3 separate regions of the Homo sapiens genome follow, and all the other regions are linked to region 3. Evidence: promoter capture Hi-C in 16 types of primary human blood cells and fetal thymus (Javierre and others, 2016). All regions are on one chromosome and are shown on one strand. Each heading gives the region's core, a stretch centred on a gene start or on the middle of the fragment in contact. The rest is flanking DNA. Distances are from core to core; before and after follow the strand shown. Region 1 has its middle 110 kb from the start of LINC02370. Region 2 has its middle 70 kb from the start of LINC02370. Region 3 holds the start of ADGRD1 (adhesion G protein-coupled receptor D1).

Region 1 (2,700 bases), core at 39-2,538, 500 kb before region 3:
GAAGCCCAACTCTACAAATTCGCAGCAGATCAGCCCCCAACCCCCACAAATTCCCAGCAGATCAGGAAGGGCGGGGCATGGATGAAAGGGCATCAGGGCCACAGGCCCAGGACAGGCACGTGGGTTGCTCTTGGAGGCATTTGCAGGTACACTAAGAAGCTCCAGGAAGGACACACACACACACATATACACACACATACACATACATATGCACACACATACATACACAGACACACACACACACGTACACAGACACACAGACACACATACACACACACATTCCCCTGCCCTCCCATCTCCAGACCTTGCGGTCCCCATGAGCTTCCCGATTCCTGGCACTGCCGGGCTGTCCTGAAGGCTCTTTTGGCCAGAAATGGGCAGGGATCTGAGAGCACCTGCTGTCGGGTGAGTCCTACTGTACTCATGTCAGAGATTAGGACGAGAAGACACAGGAGTGAGCTGGGCTGGAGTCTCAGCTGCAGATGACAAGGAGAGCACAGTGGAAAGCCTGGCCCACCTCCCCTCCCCACTGGGCCCCTGGGTGGGATACCACCATTTCCAGAATGGGCTGTGGGTTGCGCGGGCTCCTGAGGTTCGCTGAACCGGGGCTCTGAGGGGTCCCCAAAGTGCTTCCTCCCTGTCCTGTGCCCCCACCCCATGGGGTGGAAGAGCCGCCCACAGGCCTGGGTTCCGCCATGCACAAGGGAACTGGACCTTGGTGACTATTCAGGAGGGAGTCTCCGGGCTGCCCTTCCCATGACCACATGTCAATCCCCTTTGGCCCCAAGGGAATTTCTCATAACCCTCCCTTGGAGGAGCCCCCTCGGTGCCAGCCCACCCTCATCACTCTCTCCTGAACCCCCATGAACAGACTCCGTGGCGCCTCCACCTGCCTTTGTCCCGCCAACCCTCCCTGTCCAGAGCAGCCATGGGGCCTCTTACAGTTTTAAGTCTGTCTGCATCACGCGTTTCCTCAGAGTCTCCTCAGGCTGGGTGAGTCCTCGTCCTAATAGGCCCTGACTGCCTGGCGCTGCCTACCTCTCCTGCCTCAGCAGGAGCTGCCCACACCTGTCCTCAGCCAACCAAGCTCCTAACCGTCGGGGATCCTGGGACTCGGGCCTGCCTTTGCTGGACACTTCCGTCAGATTTCTACCTGGCCACGTTCCACTCTTTCTTAAGGATTCTGCTTAAAAGTCACGTCCTCTAAGGCTCCTCGCTGGCCTTCCCCACCACATTGATGTCCAGGTAAGGAGCTCGGGGGTTTAAGGAGCAGATGGAGCTGTGGGGCTGGGCACAGATGTTGAGGCAGGGGTGGGGGCAGGAGCCAGGGAGTGTCAGGCTTTGACCCAGAAAGGAAGGGAGCCATTGGAGGGAGCGTGTGGCCTGGTGACTGTGGTCGGGAGACGTCTCTTCCTTAGGCGATAGTTGCTGTGGGCATGTGAGGAGTGGCTGGGAGCTGCTGCATGGCCGGGCTGTGTATGCCCTGCATGGCCACAAGGGGGGCAGGTGCTCCTGCAGTGGAGCTGCTTGCAGTTCCTGTCCCTGCCGTGTCACATGGGCCTCTGCAGAGTGTGAGAGGGTCCCTTGCAACTCTGTGTGATTTTGTAGTGTCTTCCCCAGGAACACCCTCCCAGTCACATAAACCTCAGGCCCACAAGGCCTGGGCGCCTCTCCTGCTTCCCTATGCCATGTGCCCCGGGGACGAGGGCCCCACCTGCCAGCTTGTGGACTTCAATTCCCATCAGTGCTCACCCTACTGCAGCCCATTCTCACTGCAAATGCTCTTTGTTTTATTTATTTATTTATTTATTTATTTATTTATTTATTTATTTATTTTTGATAATTGGGAAAACTTTTAACTGTGATTCATTACATTAATACCCAATAGATGCATCTGGCAAAATAATTAAATGATAAAAATCACAATAATTTTAATTTTAAAATCAAAATAATTTAAATCAGCTTAGTAAAACCTTTCTCACCTTCCACCTATGCATTTCATCAGTGAGAAAAATCTTGATCTAGTGAAGTTGGGGCAGGGGCAATGTATAAGCCCTCTTACCTCCCCAGGACACAGCATAAGTCTGGAATAGACAGTTCAGGAAGCAGTCTCTTAAACTGCATCGTGATGATGAAGTCCTATATTAAGTAAGATCCCAAAGATGGTTAATAGCAGGCAGGCTAAGAGCTGTAACCTCTAGTCTTTTCCTTATGAAATATTGCTTCCAGTTTAATTGATTTTATTTAGATGGGTTTACACTTAAACACAGATATTCAGGCAGCACTTGTATTTCCCTAGGGACTCTGTTTATAAACATTCAGAGATAGTTATGGATAAAGTTAGAATATCTTTCCCTCTTTTGCTTAATATTTATTAAGGACTTACTATGTGTTATATTCTGTGCTATGTGTTTTACATAAAATACATCATCACAATGACCTTCTTTTGCAGATGAAGAAACAAAAGTTCTGAGAGGTCTTCAGGAACTTGTATATAATTACAGAGGTAATAAGGATTGGTTGGAAATGAAACCAAGGGCTACCTCCTGTCCCCAAAGCTCATGCTCTTAACCCCTTCACCATGAGTTTCTGGTTCTATTCCTAGACTCTAGGCATCATATACTCCTGTTAATACTTTCTGTCTTCAAGCAAGTCCATTTACATTTATATTATAAAAGGTTAAATTGTTCATGAATATAG
Region 2 (2,700 bases), core at 151-2,650, 460 kb before region 3:
GGATGTTATCAGAGGATAGGAATCCAATATATCTTCTTTTCTAATTGTAGTAAGAACACTTAACTAGAGATCTACCCTCTTGTCACACTTTTAAGTGTGCATTACAGCATTGTAAACTATAGGCACAGTGTTGTACAACAGATCCCCAGAACTTACTCATCTTGGAGAACTGAAACTCATACCAGCTGAACGGCAACTCCCCACATCCCCTTCCCCAGTCCCAGGCCACCCCCATTCTACGGTGTTTCTATGAGTTTGACTATTTTAGAGGCCTCCTACAAATGGAATCGAAGGCAAAAGACCTGAATACACATTTCTCCAAAGAAGACATACAAATGACCAACAGGTGTATGAAAAAGATGCTCAACATCATGAATCAGGGGGGAAATGCAAATCCAAACCACACCTGTTGGGAGACCATTATCAAAAATACAAGAGGTAAGTGCTGGTGAGGAGATGGAGAAGTTGGAACCACCGTATACCCCAGAAAGGAATGTAAAATGATGTAGTTGCTATGGAAAACAATATGGAAGCTTCTCAAAAAATTAAAACTAGCACAGCTGTATGATTCAGCCATCCCACTTCTGGGCAGTTATCCAGATGAACTGAGCTTAGGATCTGGAAGAGATATCGGCAATCCTCGTTGCAGCACTGTCACAGCAGCAAAGATATGCGAACAACCTAAATTCCCACCGACAGCTGAATGGATGAGGACAATGTGAAGGTACACACACAATGGAACACGAGCCAGCCAACCAACAGGGAAATCCTACCATTCGCAATAACACGGATGAACCTGGAGGGCATCATTCTAAGTAAAAGAAGCCAGAAACAGAAGAACTCACTGGGTCTTGAGCTCAGAAGTTGTTCAGCAAACTCTTCTCTGCAGAAGCAAGTTTGAGAGGGGAATGCAGGGAGCTCCTTACCTAGGAGATACTGACATGGCTGTGGGCAGTGATGTGGGAGAGGCTTGCCCACCCAGCCTCAAAGTGAGGTCCAAGCCTCGGGTGGACATAGAGGCTGTTGGGTTACACCATGGAGAGGTGCAGACAGAGACCCCCTACAGGCTGCCGTGTCCACTCCAGGGCGAGCCCTAGACACACCCTCCAGGCTCTTGATGACCATTCTTGGACCTTGGCCCAGTAGGACCATGGCAGGCCCAAGCTGGTCAAGGCCCTGTGGCCAACCTCCCATACATTTCCAAAGGGCTGTGGGGCCTTCACAGTCTTGGCCACACAGGCCATGCCCTCAGAGAACATCTATTTCTCCTACACCCTGCACAGATGGGGCAGTCAGGAGAAGCCACCTGAAGTATTGGCTGAGAGCACCACTTGGGGGGACCAATGGCTTGTTCCATGGGGACATATTATGAAAGTAACAAATCCTGAACAGAGGCTAGGCTCTTCTGCTTGACAAGAGGCAGTGACAGGATCTCCCTGTGCAGTAAGGTCAGAGGGCTCTGGAGCTGGACTGCCCTGTCCACACCCTGCCCACTTGCCAGCTATGTGCTGGTACTCAGGACCTGAGCCTCAGTTTCCACAGCTGTAGAATGGGGAGGCAAACATGGCCTCACCCATAGGCCTGCCATGAGTATCAGTGAGATCATTCACACATGTTAGCACAGTGCCTGGTGAAGGGTGTGCTCTATAAATGGCCAGTGTCATTACCTGATACTTTCACTGTGCAAGGAAAAAAGAAAGAGAGAAGGCGGATGTATTAGTTTGTTCTCATACTGCTATAAGAAATGCCTGAGACTGGGTAATTTACAAAGGAGAGAGGTTTAATTGACTCACAGTTCCGTATGACTGGGGAGGCCTCAGGAGACTTACAGTCATGGCAGAAGGTGAGGAGGAGGCAGGCACCTTCTTCACAAGGTGGCAGGTGAGAGAATGAATGAAGGCGGAACTTGCAAACTTATAAAACCATCAAATCTCATGAGAACTCACTCACTATCACAAGGACAGCATGAGGGAAACTGCCCCCATGATCCAATCACTTCCCACTGTGTCCCTCCAATGACAGCTGGGGATTGTGGGGATTACAATTCAAGATGAGATTTGGGTGGGGACACAGCCTAACCACACCAGTGGAAAAGAGGAGGTGGAGGATGCATTTCTGTGAGTTGAATATACTTGAACTTCAGACAGCAGAGCCAGGCTTCATAGAGCATCCTTGGACCACCATGCCTGGGACCTTCCCCCCTCTACTGAGGCCCAAACAAACCTGCTTCTGGAACTGGCCCAATTTCCCCATAGAAACAAAGCTTGAGAAGATTATTATCTGAGTTCATGTCTCAGGAAACCAACCGTCAGGACTTCCAGATAGTATCAAGGAACTGAACTTTCCCAGATCACTGCATCCAACCAATGAGACTTGCTGTTTGTTGGCCAACTCCTCTTCCTTACTCCTAACTAGTGGGTTAGAGAGATTCATTTGGGACTGGTCTGCATTCAAGCCTTTCTTCTCTGGCAGTACTTGTCTCAGTGATTGGCTTTCTATGTGATGAGTAACTGGACCTAACCAAACCCCTGGTGCTTGGCAACACATCCCTGAGGATGCAGGAATCTGGGCTGAGGAACAAGGGGAAGGGAGTCCACGGCTCCAGCGTGGGAACAGGTGCATCTGTCAGGAGGGTTCAGCTGTGGGAACAGGGACACCCACATAAGAGTGGCTTCAATAAAATGGGGATTCTCCTGTTAT
Region 3 (2,700 bases), core at 70-2,569:
TGGGAGGCCAAGGCGGGCGGATCACCTGAAATCAGGAGTTCGAGACCAGCCTGGCCAACATAGTGAAACCCTGTCTCTACTAAAAATACAAAAAAAAAAAAAGCTGGGTGTAGTGGTGCACACCTGTGATCCCAGCTACTCAGGTGGCTGAGGCAGGAGAATTGCTTGAACCCGGGAGGCAGAGGTTGCGGCCACTGCACTCCAGCCTGGGCAACAGAGCAAGACTCCATCTCAAAAAGAAAAAAAGGAAGAAAGGAAGAAAGAGAGAAAGAGAGAAAGAAAGAGGCAGAAGGCATTCAAATGAAGATCATATTTCCTTAATCACAATGTTTCATATGACCCAGCTCAAGGGGCCCAGAACCACTTCTCCATCCACCGCTCAGCCGGTGAGGGGTAGCAGAGCTGCCCAGGGTCACAGTGTGTGGTGAGGCAGTGAGGTCGGGGACCAGGAGCCCAACAAGGGCCATTCGCTGATGCCTCAGAGATGAACAAGTGGGCTGTTCCTGAGATACCTGCACTAGGCAGGGGGAGAGCGGTGCTCAGAGTGAGAAGGAAACACTCTTACCTGGATGGTCCTGCGATCTGGAGTAGACGCCACGCACCTGCGCACAAAAGACCACAGTGTGAGACACACTCAGGGAAAGCCTCCGGAGAAACCAAGCCTGTCGCCATCCTGGCCACTTGGGGACATTACCTGAAAGTTGTAATAAAATAGCAGCAGCCAGGAGTACCAGCAGCACAGCCGCAGCAGCTTTTCCATGGCTCTCTCGGAGGTCAAAGCTCGGAGCCAAGTGAAATTCCTGAGGGTCTGTGAGAACGGGACCTCTTAACCTTCACTTCCTTGGAAAAGGGACATTTTCACAGGTTCCAGGGGAGAAAATTTCTGTCTCCTTAAAGTTTGTGAAACACAGCTGTCTTGGAGACCTAATGGGTGTTTCTTCCTCGTCTCAAAACTTGAGATTCTTCAGTGATCAATAAACACGTTGCGATGACCAGAGCAGCTGTGGAATGCAGGGAGGAGAAACCCAAACCCGACTCGCAGTCCTGGGAAAGCAATCCCAGGTCACCACTGTGACCGCGACCTGCGCCCGGGGACGGGAGGCTGTTTGTCCTGCGGTATTTTCTTTTTATTTCAAGAGCCTCCGTTTGTCTCAGTCAGGTTTGGAGCTTCCCTTTTCTCTGAAGAAGGTTTTGTGCGTGGTTTTCCCCTGGAGCGCCCGCCTGCTCCTCGGGCTTGTCCTGCGGCCGCTCTCGAGCTCCTTCTGGTCTGGCTCAAGTTCACACCTCCGTCCTGCTCTCTGGGTGGAGGGGGAGTGAGTGATGTAAGTCTCTCTCCTCAAACTTTGTTCTGTTCTCCTTTTCTATTTATATCCCCACTGCTGTGTCCTTCCTGGGTCCTAACTCCAGCCTCTTAACAACAGCTGAAATATTTCCAGGATCTCAGGCTCAGAATCAAACCAAACAGACATGGTGTGTGGTGTGTGTGCGTGTGCGTGTGTGTGTTACTGATGCCTTCTGGTCAGCACCTTCAAAGTCGGCATAAATATTAATAAATACAAAATGCAAAACAAACCATAAACTCTGTTTAGATCTGAGTCTTGTTTGCCCCCAAAAGAGAATGAAGTTGACAGAGGGATGGAAAAGAGAAAGCAGCACACCCACTGTGCCCTCCATATTAAGCGCTGACCACATTTTTCTCTCTAATCCTTTCGGACGTCAGTGAAAGCTACGGAATTAATTACAAGGTACGCTGCGCAATTACACCATCCCACATATACCCCCACCCCAGCACCAGGAGGATGTTCTCAATGGGATAGAAAAGAGTCAGCCCCTTCGCCAGACATGCCTCAGTTTACCCAAGACCAAAGTTTATCCGATCTACTCCAAATACACGTGGACACACAGAGACACACACCCTAGAATTGCAGTCACAGCTATATTTGCTATGTGATTTAAGTAATATTTACCGCTTCATACTTTCTCCAACATTCACCAGCTGTGCTCCTAGGCAAATTACTTGATCTCTCTTAGTTTTCGAATTCCTCATCCACAAAATGGGGGTTAATAGTTCCTCCTCCTCAGGGCTGTAACAATAAATTAGAGGACAGATCCAAGGCTCTTCAGGCAGTACTTGGAAAATATGTGGCACTCAGTAAATGCTGCTATTTTCTATTAAGAAAAATTATCACTCAGTAAATGTTAGCTATGATTATTATTAGCAAGTATAACATAACACCCAGTAAATGTTAGCTGATACAGTTATCTCAATTGTCCTGACTTTAAATGGGAATTAAGAATCCTGAATCCAACATACTTCCTAAAGAGGATAAGAAAATGACTTCCAATCTCTGTGGGACAGAAAAAAAGAAAGTGCTGTCAAAACGTTAGGTGATTATTTTTAACTTGTGCCTGCAGCCTACAACCGCTCAGATCCTCTGATAGCCTGAGCCTCTCTGTGGAGCTGGAGAAGGGTTCCAGAGAGTTCCATCTCCTAGCAATGGAGAAACTGTGAACTCCAAAGGCCGGGGGCTGTCTGTAATAACGACCTTTATCCTGTTGCTCAGGCTGGTCGGCTTCAGGGAAAACTAATTTACAACCTTTATCTCTGCCATTTCATCAGCTCTCCAGTCCCCCACTGCCTCTCGCTGGAAGAGGTGAAGGGAGGGACAGGCAGCTGCAGGTTTTTCTCAGCTCCAGTTT

What was found. The method cuts DNA at HindIII sites, captures the fragments that hold promoters and counts their contacts. A CHiCAGO score of 5 or more calls a contact.
Region 1: a fragment that was not itself captured here is called in contact with the fragment with the promoter of ADGRD1 in region 3 in 3 of 17 cell types (M1 macrophages, M0 macrophages and M2 macrophages); the score reaches 6.5 in M1 macrophages.
Region 2: a contact is called between a fragment that was not itself captured here and the fragment with the promoter of ADGRD1 in region 3, in 1 of 17 cell types (M1 macrophages). The highest score is 5.4, in M1 macrophages.

Annotation. Positions count from the first base shown.
Region 1 is chr12:131,453,691-131,456,390 of GRCh38, reverse strand. It overlaps a transcript of LOC101929974 not described here. Among named protein-coding and RNA genes, the nearest start is that of LINC02370, 110 kb to the right of the region's middle. RefSeq lists a silencer at 1,588-1,637 and an enhancer at 1,214-1,719. The HindIII fragment of the contact is 6,581 bases long and covers 1-2,700 here.
Region 2 is chr12:131,416,217-131,418,916 of GRCh38, reverse strand. No RefSeq gene overlaps it. Among named protein-coding and RNA genes, the nearest start is that of LINC02370, 70 kb to the right of the region's middle. The HindIII fragment of the contact is 1,730 bases long and covers 536-2,265 here.
Region 3 is chr12:130,952,526-130,955,225 of GRCh38, reverse strand. ADGRD1 (adhesion G protein-coupled receptor D1) reads right to left here and starts at 1,319. Exons shown (of 25, transcript NM_198827.5): 1 at 695-1,319; 2 at 566-602. The coding sequence starts at 760. The HindIII fragment of the contact is 10,485 bases long and covers 1-2,700 here.